2 separate regions of the Homo sapiens genome follow, and region 2 is linked to region 1. Evidence: promoter capture Hi-C in human tissues and cell types (Jung and others, 2019). All regions are on one chromosome and are shown on one strand. The core of a region is centred on a gene start or on the middle of the fragment in contact, and the rest is flanking DNA. Distances in the headings are between cores, read along the strand shown.

Region 1 (5,415 bases), core at 1,591-4,090:
ACCTCCAACACTGGGGATTACAATTTGACATGAGATTTGGGCGGGGACACAGATCCCAAACCATATCACCCTCAGTACCTGTTGCTGGCTGACAGTTGGTCAGTGTCTAGGGGAGAACCATTCTCAGCTTCAGTTCCACGATAGCGAATACCATCTTGGCAAAAATCCCCTGGACAAGTCAGAGACCTCACTAAGTCTCCAGCATCTAGCCTGATGCCTGACACATACTGACCCTCAATAAACGGCTGTTCAACTGTGGGCACAGGAATGGTGAGGAGGCTGTGGGCACAGAGGACGCTGGCCCTTCTTTGGAAGCAGATGAAGGTCTGGGTGTTGATGAGGGGTTCCTCGAAAGTCCCATGCTGCTCACAACACCCAACACTCCTACAGACTGTGACCATGTTCTGTTGACAACTGAGCCTGCACAGGATCTTTATGCAGTAGGGAACCGGCCCGGATTCTCCACAGGGAGAATCTCCCAGATGTTTCCCCGCTTTCTGCCCCAAAGTCAAGATCAAAAGCAGTTGGCAGCTGCAGACATCAGCAGAAGTCAGTGGAACACAGTGTGGAACCATGTCGCGCTGGAGGAGGAAGTCTCGCGCTGGAGGAGGAAGTCTCACCCTTGACAGAGACTAGAACTGGGCCTTAGAAGCTTGAACCAACCTCTGTCCCTGCGAGAGCAGCACACTTTTGTGCTCCTCAGCCCTTGCGTCTTCTTTGCCTGGAATATGGCAAAACGTTTATTTTCCCCCACTAAATGAGGCTCCTCTAGGGCTGCAACTGTGTTTGCCCATCTCTCTTTCTCTAGCAGCTAGCACAGGGCTAGCAGTCGGTGCTTGTTGAGCCGGTGGGTGAAGAGACGAGAGCACACCTCCTGTGTGCCCGGCATGGCGGGACCTGGTGCCGGCAAGTGGTGGGCTCTCTGGCCTCATGCTCTGCGCTGGTGATGTCAAGGGGTGGGCTTCTGTCCTGCCACTGATAGTAGGAGGGAAGGCCAGCAGGAAACGCCGAAACCTACTCAAGCTGCTGGAGAAGGGGGAATCCAGCCCTGTTTCAGGGGAAGGAGTATCCTGTGTTCTGAGAGCGAGAGAGCAGCTTAGCCGGCAAATCCTTAAATCCTTCAGAGATTACAGGATTGTGCAAGAGGGAAGGCCAAGAGGGGGACCTCTGAGGCAGCTCCAGCATGGCCTGTTGTGTGCAGAGGACTGAGATCCCAGAACATGCCACACCAAGAAGACATGTCCCAAGGGGCAGTGGAGCCACAGCCACCAGAAGGGACCTGGCCCTGTCGGACCTGCTGAAGCTAGCCGTGGAGTGCAGGGGCTTTGTTGGTCTGGCTGCTAACCAAAGGGTGGCTAATGGGACCCTTTCCAGGGGCCTCTAGGGGATTTCAGTGGGGGCTTGCTTCGAGGCTCTATTACCACTGGACTGTTTACCAAGAGCCTCAGCCTGACAGAGATGGGAAGAGACGAGTGAGCATTTCTGACCCAACACCCCCACTGCAGAGTTGGGGAAACATTTACCCAAGATAGGAGGAATAAAAAGGAAAAAAATTGAATTTATTTCCAAAAAACATACCAAGGTGGACAAGATAGGAAACAATACAATTTATATTACAGTTTTATTATTATTTAAAAATTTTATATTAACAAAATGAGATGGGATCTGCCTATGTTGCCCAGGCTGGTCTTCAACTCCTGGGCTCAATCTCCTCGGCCTCCGAAAGTGTGATTACAGGCGTGAGCCACCGCACCCGGCCCATATTACAGTTTCATAGTGTTTTTGATTACTCGTGGTAGGAGAAATGTGTCTTCTTTGCACTTGGGGTCTCAACGTCTCAGTCCTGCCCTATGCCCCGAGACCCCAAGAGGCTTTCCCAAGGTCAGGCAGGGAATCCGCAGAGAGGCAGGGCTGGACTCCAGCATCCTGACTCCCCAGTTCGTGCTCTGTGCTGCAGAGACCTGTTGCGTAACACTGAGTAACTGTGGATTGTCTAACCTTTTATGAAATTTCCAGCTGGTCTTTTGCTACCGGCCAGCAGTCCAGTTGGTGGGAGTGATGATGCCGGTCTTCTGAGACGTCCAGTGGACAGATTTTCCCCAGGTTTCTGGATGCAGCCCCAACAAGCAAAAGTGCTACACTCCTGCACCGGGAACACTGACACAGGGGTCACGAAAATGCTAAAACAAGACGTGCAAGAATTGTTGCGCTCCGCACACGTAACAAGGGCTCTGCCTCCCCCTCCCCCAATCTTCGCCCTGGTGGCCAGGCCCTGGGCTCCGCCCCTTCCCCACCAGACCGGGGGAGGGGTCCTCCTCGGCATGGAGGTAGGGGATGCTAGGCTGCTGGAGACGCCCGCAGAAAGAGGCGGGATGGCGGGGCGGATGCTGGCGGCCCGGGTCTGGCCACCTGGGTCAGCTGCACGCCCCCGCCCCGGGCTGGCCGGACCTCGTAGCCCAGGTCCCACCACGCCGTGAAGTTTGCGGAAAGTTTTGCAGTTGCTTCCCCGCCCGCGCCAGCGGGGGAGTTGTGACGCAGCGTCTGGGGATCCTGGCCGGGACAGAAGAGAGGGAAGGCGAGGCGGGGAGAGACTGGGAAACAGAGCAGCAAGAGAAAGGGCGCACGCTGGGGTCCTCCTGGACCCGGCGTGTCCTCCTCTCCGCCACCCCTTTCTCTCCCTCCCGACGCTCTAGCCCCAGACCCGCGCCTCCTCCCCTTCCCCTCCCACGCTGCCCACTTCCCTTCCCCTCTACCCCTCGAACCCTCCTCCCCGGTTCTGCGCTCCTCCCTCCGCCCTCCCTCCGCCCGGGCTGCCTCCTCCCTCCTCCTCCCCGGGAGGCATCACTTCGTCCCGACCCGGAGGAGGACGCGAGCCCCTTGCGGGCGGTCATCACAGCCCAGCCTCGGGGCTGCCACAGCGCGTTGCGCCTGTGCGCCCTCGGTCCCCGCGTCCACTGAGCGCCGCGCTCGGGGATGGGGCCCGGCCGGCCGGCCCCCGCGCCCTGGCCTCGTCACCTGCTGCGCTGCGTCCTGCTCCTCGGGTGCCTGCACCTCGGCCGTCCCGGCGCCCCTGGGGACGCCGCCCTCCCGGGTAAGGCGCTGCCAACTTGGCCAACTTCAGGGCCCGGGCGGGGGGAGCGCCGAGGCGCGGGCCGCTCTCGACTTTTCCCTCCTTTTCCCCCCTCTTTTCTCCAGAAGCGTGTGTGCGTGTGTGTGTGACTGGGTTTTTAAAACTCGTCTCCGCTTTTCTGAAAGCGGGGGAGGAGAGGGGAGGAGGAGCGCGCCTAGAGGTGGGGGAGGACCTGAGTGGAACCAGATGTGGCGGGCGGCGGGGGAGGGGAGCCCGGGGGACTCCAGCAGCCTAGGAGGAAGCGGGTGGGCTCTTGAGGACCCCCGCGCACCGCGCTCCCGGACCACCCGGCGCCGGCCCGTCCTCGGCAGGGGACCTGCAGGGCGCGCCCGGGGAGCCAGGGCTCTCTGTCCGGGAGTTCCCGGGCCCAGTCTCCTCGCTCTGCCCCAGGACTGATGCGTTAGGACGGCTTTCCAACTATCCGCGAGGGTTCGTTTCCCCCACCTTCCCCCCGCCCCCTGCATCTCGTGGGCGTTGATATTTTCTTTTCCACACTTAGTCTTCAAGGAGGCTTGTGGCGCGCGGCATCCGCCCCGCGTGAGCTCGGCAGCCCTGTGAGGAGGCTCCTGCCACTGGGACGCAGCAACAGGCTGGGCGCCGCCGTGCTGTGATGTTGCGTAGCGTGGGCAGCTCTGGGCACACTAGTGGCCCTCCAGAGGGGACAGACCTTGAGCGGCAAAAGAGCTGCTAAAGATTTTAAAACCCAACGAACAGGAAACAAAACAAAAATCAGAAAACCCCAAAACTGTGCCATTCTCTTCCTGCTCCTTATTCAGGGGTAACAGTGAAGTGTGGGGACAGACAGATCCCTCGCCAAGAATCTAAGAGTTGAAAGGAAAGATCCACTTCCTGGGGGAGTGGGGGTGGGGGTGTCTGGAGTGACCGGGGGAATCGCCCGGCCCAGCTTGGTCCTGCTGGCTGTTTAATTGGGGGATGGGGACAGTCCGTGCAGTGTCTGCAGTTTTGTGCAAGGACCAGACAGCCCCCTGGAGAGTCTGGGGCCTCCAGCCTGGCCCGTGCTTGCTGGGTTGGCCTGGCGTGACGTAGGCACAAGACACATATCTGCCAGATGGGAAAGGTGGGGGCCACGGTGACCCACATTCACACCAACCGGAGACCCCCGGGGCAATTCTGGGCCCACCTGGCATTGAATGTGGGACAGACACAAACCAGGCCGGGTAACCCCCTAACCCACTGCAGGGCGGCCTCACAGGCAGTTCCCCTACCTCCTCGCACTCCTGCCTTCCTCTGCTCCTCTGCGCAGGGCCTCAGGAGGCAGGCGGTGGGAAGGGGTGGGGAGGATGGCCATTCCCAGAGCTCCAGAGCACACTTTAAAGCCAGGCCCTGGGAGAGAGTTGTGGCCAGAGTGCTGACTCGGCCTTTCCCCCTGGAGCTTTTCATAGAGGGGGCTGGAAGTGCCTGGTGAGAGGCCCGGTCAGGGAGGACAAGGACGCCTGGAGTGTCCCTCCTCCTCCTGGTCTCTGTGCCTGGCCCTCCCTGGGGCTGTGTCCAGGGATGAATAGCCTCAGAGGGTCCCCTTCCCGTTGGCACTGCATTGACCACACCCTGAGGAGGCTTGGATCTGGGTGGCAGGCAGTGTGAGGTCTTCCAGCAGCAGCTGAGCAGGAGGAGGATGGAGCTGCTGCAGGTTCCTTCCCTCGGAACCGTGCCCTCTGCACAGAGTGCGCTTGCCCCTGCCCTGCCAAATTCCACTGGGCCCTACCCTGGGAAGCCTGTTCAGAGCCTCTGGGCCGAATTCCTTGCCCGAAGAGCTGGCAGCCCCTAGTACCTGGTGAATTACGTTGTTGTTGGGAGGAATTCACCAGCACCAGAGACCAAATAGCCCAGGAAATGCATGTGGGAGGTAGGGTGTGGCAGGCCAGTGCTGCTGGGGGCGAGGCTTATGCCAGGCAGGGCAGGGGCTGCGTGTGGGCAGTTTCCTGACCACCATGGGGGAGCCCTGTGTGCCCAGAGCACGGGGCAGGGGCAGCGAGGCGGCAGTGCCTTCTTGGTGCGTGATGGTGGAATCCATCTTTTCTCCACCTTGGTGGAGTGGCCCGCGGAGACTGTCACTGGAAGGAGTCCTCTTTGTTAGTTGCCATATTACCGCATTTCTGGAGCATGCAGTTTGCTCAGCCTTGAGCCAAGTTCTTGGGGAGGAGGGAAGGTAGAGAAGAGTGTAAGATGCATCCTCTGGAAAAAGAAAATCGTGTGGGAGAATGAAACGTGGAACAGTGAACTGCGTAGGGGGCAGAATGCCATTGGTGGGATGCCTGCCTGCCCAG
Region 2 (5,163 bases), core at 2,127-4,626, 490 kb after region 1:
TTTCAACAGATCTTTATGGAATGTCTGTAATGTGGCAGGGTTAAGGCTCAGAACTCTAGGACCCAAAGAACTGATAGGGTCACACTGGTCAAGAACCCAGCTGAACGAAGAACCCGTTTAGAGTTCTACATAGTCATTTGTAAACTCTGGGCAGATTAGTTCTTTTTGATCTTCTGTTTCTTCATATGTACAGTGAAGATAATAACACCTTAAGGCTGAGAGGAATACAGAAATGTGTGTAGAGTTTCTTTTTGTGCCAAGCACTTCTTGTGACAAACAAGGGGAAATAATAAAAAGAATCCTAACATGTGAAAAAGTTGTCAATCACTTGATTAATATCCTTTTTAGCTCCTGTGTTGTGTTTCCAAGAATTGGGTATCAGTTTTAAACATGGAAAATACCATGAAGATTACAGAAAAAAATCCTTCATTGTCCATCCTTCTTCTGTGACCTTCCCCAGAAAACTCACCATGATTTATGCCATGGTCCCTAGGAAGTCTAATTTTTTTACTTAATTGACCTTGTCCTTCTTTACTTGCTTAACTTCCCACCTGCTATGGAATGTGAGCAGTTTAGAAAGTGGCAAATGTGGAATTTAAGGGCTAAACAATTTTGGCCATGAGGAATACTTTTCAGTCACAAAGCATCACAAAAGTCAAATAAATATCCACGATTCAAAAGAAAGCCTTAGTAACTCTCTAAACAGGAAATAAATTATAGTATGGGATAATATAAAGCTTAGAACAGAATATATGTTCACATTATAACAACAGAAATTTTTATAATGCTAAACTATATATTTATTCTCATTATAGAAAATTATGCACCCAAATTGACATTCAGCCCATAAGAGTAATAAACACGTGGCATGGCAGAGTAACTCCCTCTCTTAGAGGAGGATTTTAAACACCAGAGGGCAGAGTGTTCCAGAGGACATTTTCAGTTCAGCTGGCCTTTCTTAATTGTAAATGCGCATCCTTACCTTGTCCGTCAGTCATTCATGTCGTGGGCAGAATTTCAAAAGTTAAGAAATGTGGTTATTTCATTTTACTTATTTTTTTCTTAAGACACAGAGTCCTGCTTTGTCACCCAGACTGGAGTGTGGTGGCACAATCACTGCTCATTGCAGCCTCAACCTCCTGGGGTCAAGAGATCTTCCCACCTCAGCCTCCTGAGTAGCTGGGACTACAGGCGTGCACCACCATACCTGGCTAATTTTTTCATTATTTTGTAGAGATGGGGTCTTGCTATGTTGCCCAGGCTGGTCTAAAGTCCTGGGCTCAAGCAACCCTCTCACCTCGGTCTCCCAAAGCACTGAGATTACAGGTGTGAACCACTGTGCCCAGCCAAGAAATATGGTCATTTTAGAATTGTCTATGTGGTATTATCTGTTTTGATGACTTTGTTTAGATAGCACAATGAGCAGTGTTTTGAGTTATACCAGAGTTGGTTGAACATCTCTGTTTTCCCCATTTCTGGTTAATGTTCATGTTTCTGATTTCTGAAAACGATTTTTAGAAAAAATTATGTATACATCTATATCATTCAGTAAATTTTATAACTTTAGATTAATGAAGTAAGTAAAGTGAGAGAAAGGAGATTTGATATGTGTATCTTATGGCTCAGTATGCCCTTTTATGCCCTGCTTATCAATAAAAACATTCTGAAAGAACCACCTGCCAACTCATGACCTTTTTCAAATGTTACAATTATCATTTAGAGGTAGCATCACACATTTGGGATAATTTTATTCAGGGTTTAGATAGTAAAGTCAACATATAAAATAAAAACTGAGTATAAAGAAAATTATCCTCAGAAATCCATTACATATCATTCACGACATTCATTAAACAGAAATACTGCTTCTCAGTATATCCAACCCTGCCAGTTTATCCTTTAGAGTTGTAACTATTTTACTCTTTACTCTCTTTTTCTTTGACCACCAGATGAAGTAGTTGGCTGATGTATAGGGATCACATATATGATTTTTAAGAATATATTTCTTTTTCTTCTCTGTCACTCATTACCCTACTGCTGCAGATTGAAGTCCTGATCTGAAGCAGTAGCCATTGCTAGGAAAGACACAACCCCGCGTAGAAAGTTGGCCAAAGCTTGAATTGCTATAGCTAGTAGAATGGTTACTTTCTTAACTCCTGTGAGAATAGAGATTTCGTATGTACATCTCTTCATAAATATTACCCTACCTTTAAGCACAATAGAGTTTAGCACGGATGATTACTCCTTAGAGAAAGCTTTTAATATAGCAAGACTGAAAAAAGAATAAAAATAAAAAAGAATGTAAAACTGTATAAGTTTTAGCATGACTTACCTAAATTAATCATAAAGGAGTTAAAAATTAGTAACCAAGGGGAAGAGCTTAACTCCTTAAATCTCTCTCCACCCTTAAGTTAAATCCAATTTTTCAAGCAAAACAAAACCTGTGTACTTTGTCTTTTGAAGTATTTTAATCATGTCCTCATCCCAGTTAGCTCCTACACAGCATAAGCAACGTTAGAAAAAATTATTTGTTGTCCAAGTTTACATTTTTTGCAGAACTTTTCTGGTATCTCTCTAATGCAAAGATCTGCTCAACATGACTTGATGATGGGGAGGTGGGAGAGAAAGTTGCTCTTTTTACCTAAGATATTGAATAATTAGTATTCTAAAAAGTCACAACTGAAGAGAATTTCCCTCAAAAATAACTACTGGCACAAGACAATATTTGAGTTAAAAAACTTACTAGGTAGAAGAGATTAGATTATCCAGGAAACAGAATGAGATAGGCTGTCCATGGAATTTCCAAGTCAAACATAATAGCTCATTTTTGAGTTTGCCCTACAGTTTTCTAGTTAGGTAGGATAAAAAGTAATAGGTTATTTTAAACAACTCAATCACTTTGCATGTTCTTTGATATTAACCATTCCATAGAAACCACTTATACTTCTTTATTACCAAGTTACTATTTTCTGAAGACATTTATAAGTCATGTTGAGGCAGTAGAATTACTTGTACATTATTATATTAAATAATCCTTGAACGCTAGTCCGCAGTATCTGTATCTACTATAATTCTAAAAAGAAATAGCTACTAGCTACTTGTGAAAAGTATATGCAGTGTGATGGGACACAATATCCAGTCAAACATAAAACCTAGCCTGGAAAAATATTTACCCTTTCAGGCAATTTTCTGTGTTTATGGAGTTCTATTGAAATTCCACTTTTCATTTTTCTTTGCTGTTTTGCTTAGATACTATTAAAAAAGATAATATAGATGTTTAGAATTTTAAGCCTTTGCTTTGTATTTATTTTTTTCTATTCCCACAGTAGCTTTAGGAATAAGGTAGAAAATGCTTTACTGAGATGAATCAGTGGGTCAGAGTAGTTAGGTGCCTTACTCAGGGTTATATTTAGAAGTAGCAAAGCTGTTAGTCCAACTACAGTCAAGACTAGTCAAATGCATGTCCATCCCACTACATTGCAATTCTTTTTAGTCACATTTTACTGAGGTTCTTCATTTATGGAGATAAATGCATCATAAATCTATGACCAACAAATACGTAACTTTTCCAGAATTGGTATTATAATGGCAGTGTTGCCCATGTAAGAGAATGGTATAATAGGTAAATTTACCTAATATTTTGCTTTGTATTGTATCTGAATATTGCATTAAATAAATGGTGATGGAAAAGTAACACAGAGATATGATATAGAACAATTTCATATAGAACTACCCTATATAAATAGATGAAATATCATAGCATCAGTGACCCATGCTTAATAAATCTAATGAAAGATATTTTTCTGCACCAGTCATCTCAGAGCAACATCCAGAAGACTATAGAGAGAGTACCATTACGACAATTCTATGCATTGGTGCTTTCACTGGCTCCCTCTTCTCCTGTGATACCGTTTGGAAGCTATCCTACTATCCCCTGGAAGGGGGAGCTCTTCCTAATTCCTGGGAGGTGAGGGAAAACTATGACAAGAAAACGATTGTCCAGGCCCAGTTAGGGAGAGGCCTTTAGAAGCATGGAGTGGACCAGTAACCCTGTCTTACAAGTGATTGACGGAGAAGTTTTCTTGTTCATGAATGAAGGCTATGAGCATTTTTAGTGAAGTAAGTGTCTTTTGAAACTTTCTTTATCTAGAAGGAATACAGGTGATAGTATGCCTCTCTTTGAAATTGGTGTCATTGCTACTTTATTAGTCAATCAGTTGATAGTGCTGCAGTTTTGGCATATCTGATGCATACCATCTGAATGAAAGGCATTTAATTAGGGTTTTAATATCTCTAAGTATTTAAAAATGAATTTTCTGCTATCTCAAACTCTAGACAGTTCCTTACATTGCAACAAAATCACTGTATAATTTTAACACTTAATAAATTATGGAGATACTGCAGACCTATATTAGCTTGCTAAAGTATTAATATTTTAAATTACCTCAATTGCATTTTTTGTTGGTGCCTACTAAGTAACTGTTTTACAGCGTATATTCACACAGCTCTGATTCAGAAAATCAGAAGAGCAAAACATGAGAAGGAAACAGTAAGAGAGGAGTTTACAGCTTTAAGGCATGAGGAGCTTACAGCTTTTTAATATAAATTGTTCCCAGAATCCATGTCACAGATCCTTATATGGTGCTGCTTTTTTCCTCTTGGTTGCTATGACAACAGCAGCACTGCACCATTCATCAGCTCTGGACCTGGGCTGCACTGCTAGCCTTCCTTGTTACTCCTGAATGTTAAGAAGAACATCCGTGAATCATTCACTCTGTTAACGCTGCGCCATTAGAAACCTAAGAACCAGTTCTTCCAGTAATTTGCTCTAACAGAGGGTGAACTAAACTGCGCCACAGAGAAAAATTGTGTAAAAATATTTCTTTTATCCTAATGGAATCATACAACCTATATTTGCTGCAGTATTCTGAAAGGACAAGCTTATGTCAACCAATCTAATGAAAAGAACTCGTCTGTGTAATCTCTTGAAATCATTAGTTGTTCAAAACAGAATACCACAGTGCTTCTCTGGATACAAAAAGAAGCAGGTGATGTTGTTAGGGGTTCTAAACCCCTTTGGGAGCATCTCTTGTGCTTTGGGACCATAATCAACATCTGCTATAAGAAGTATCACCTGTAACGCACAGTAAGTTCTGGGCAGCGTAA

The links. Contacts are between HindIII fragments. The study calls those that stand out against the background at their distance.
Region 2: a fragment that was not itself captured here is called in contact with the fragment with the promoter of MRC2 in region 1 in 1 of the 25 tissues and cell types used here (dorsolateral prefrontal cortex).

The regions. Positions count from the first base shown.
Region 1 is chr17:62,624,830-62,630,244 of GRCh38, forward strand. MRC2 (mannose receptor C-type 2) reads left to right here and starts at 2,841. Exons shown (of 30, transcript NM_006039.5): 1 at 2,841-3,091. The coding sequence starts at 2,974. It overlaps LOC107985020 (a long non-coding RNA gene), which reads right to left and starts at 3,221. Exons shown (of 2, transcript XR_001752961.3): 1 at 3,016-3,221; 2 at 1,608-2,180. RefSeq lists enhancers at 566-1,066, 1,067-1,567 and silencers at 2,761-3,200, 3,401-3,470. The HindIII fragment of the contact is 9,538 bases long and covers 1-5,415 here.
Region 2 is chr17:63,112,460-63,117,622 of GRCh38, forward strand. The region is part of intron 4 of TANC2 (tetratricopeptide repeat, ankyrin repeat and coiled-coil containing 2); the gene reads left to right. Among named protein-coding and RNA genes, the nearest start is that of TANC2, 150 kb to the left of the region's middle. The HindIII fragment of the contact is 3,905 bases long and covers 1,425-5,163 here.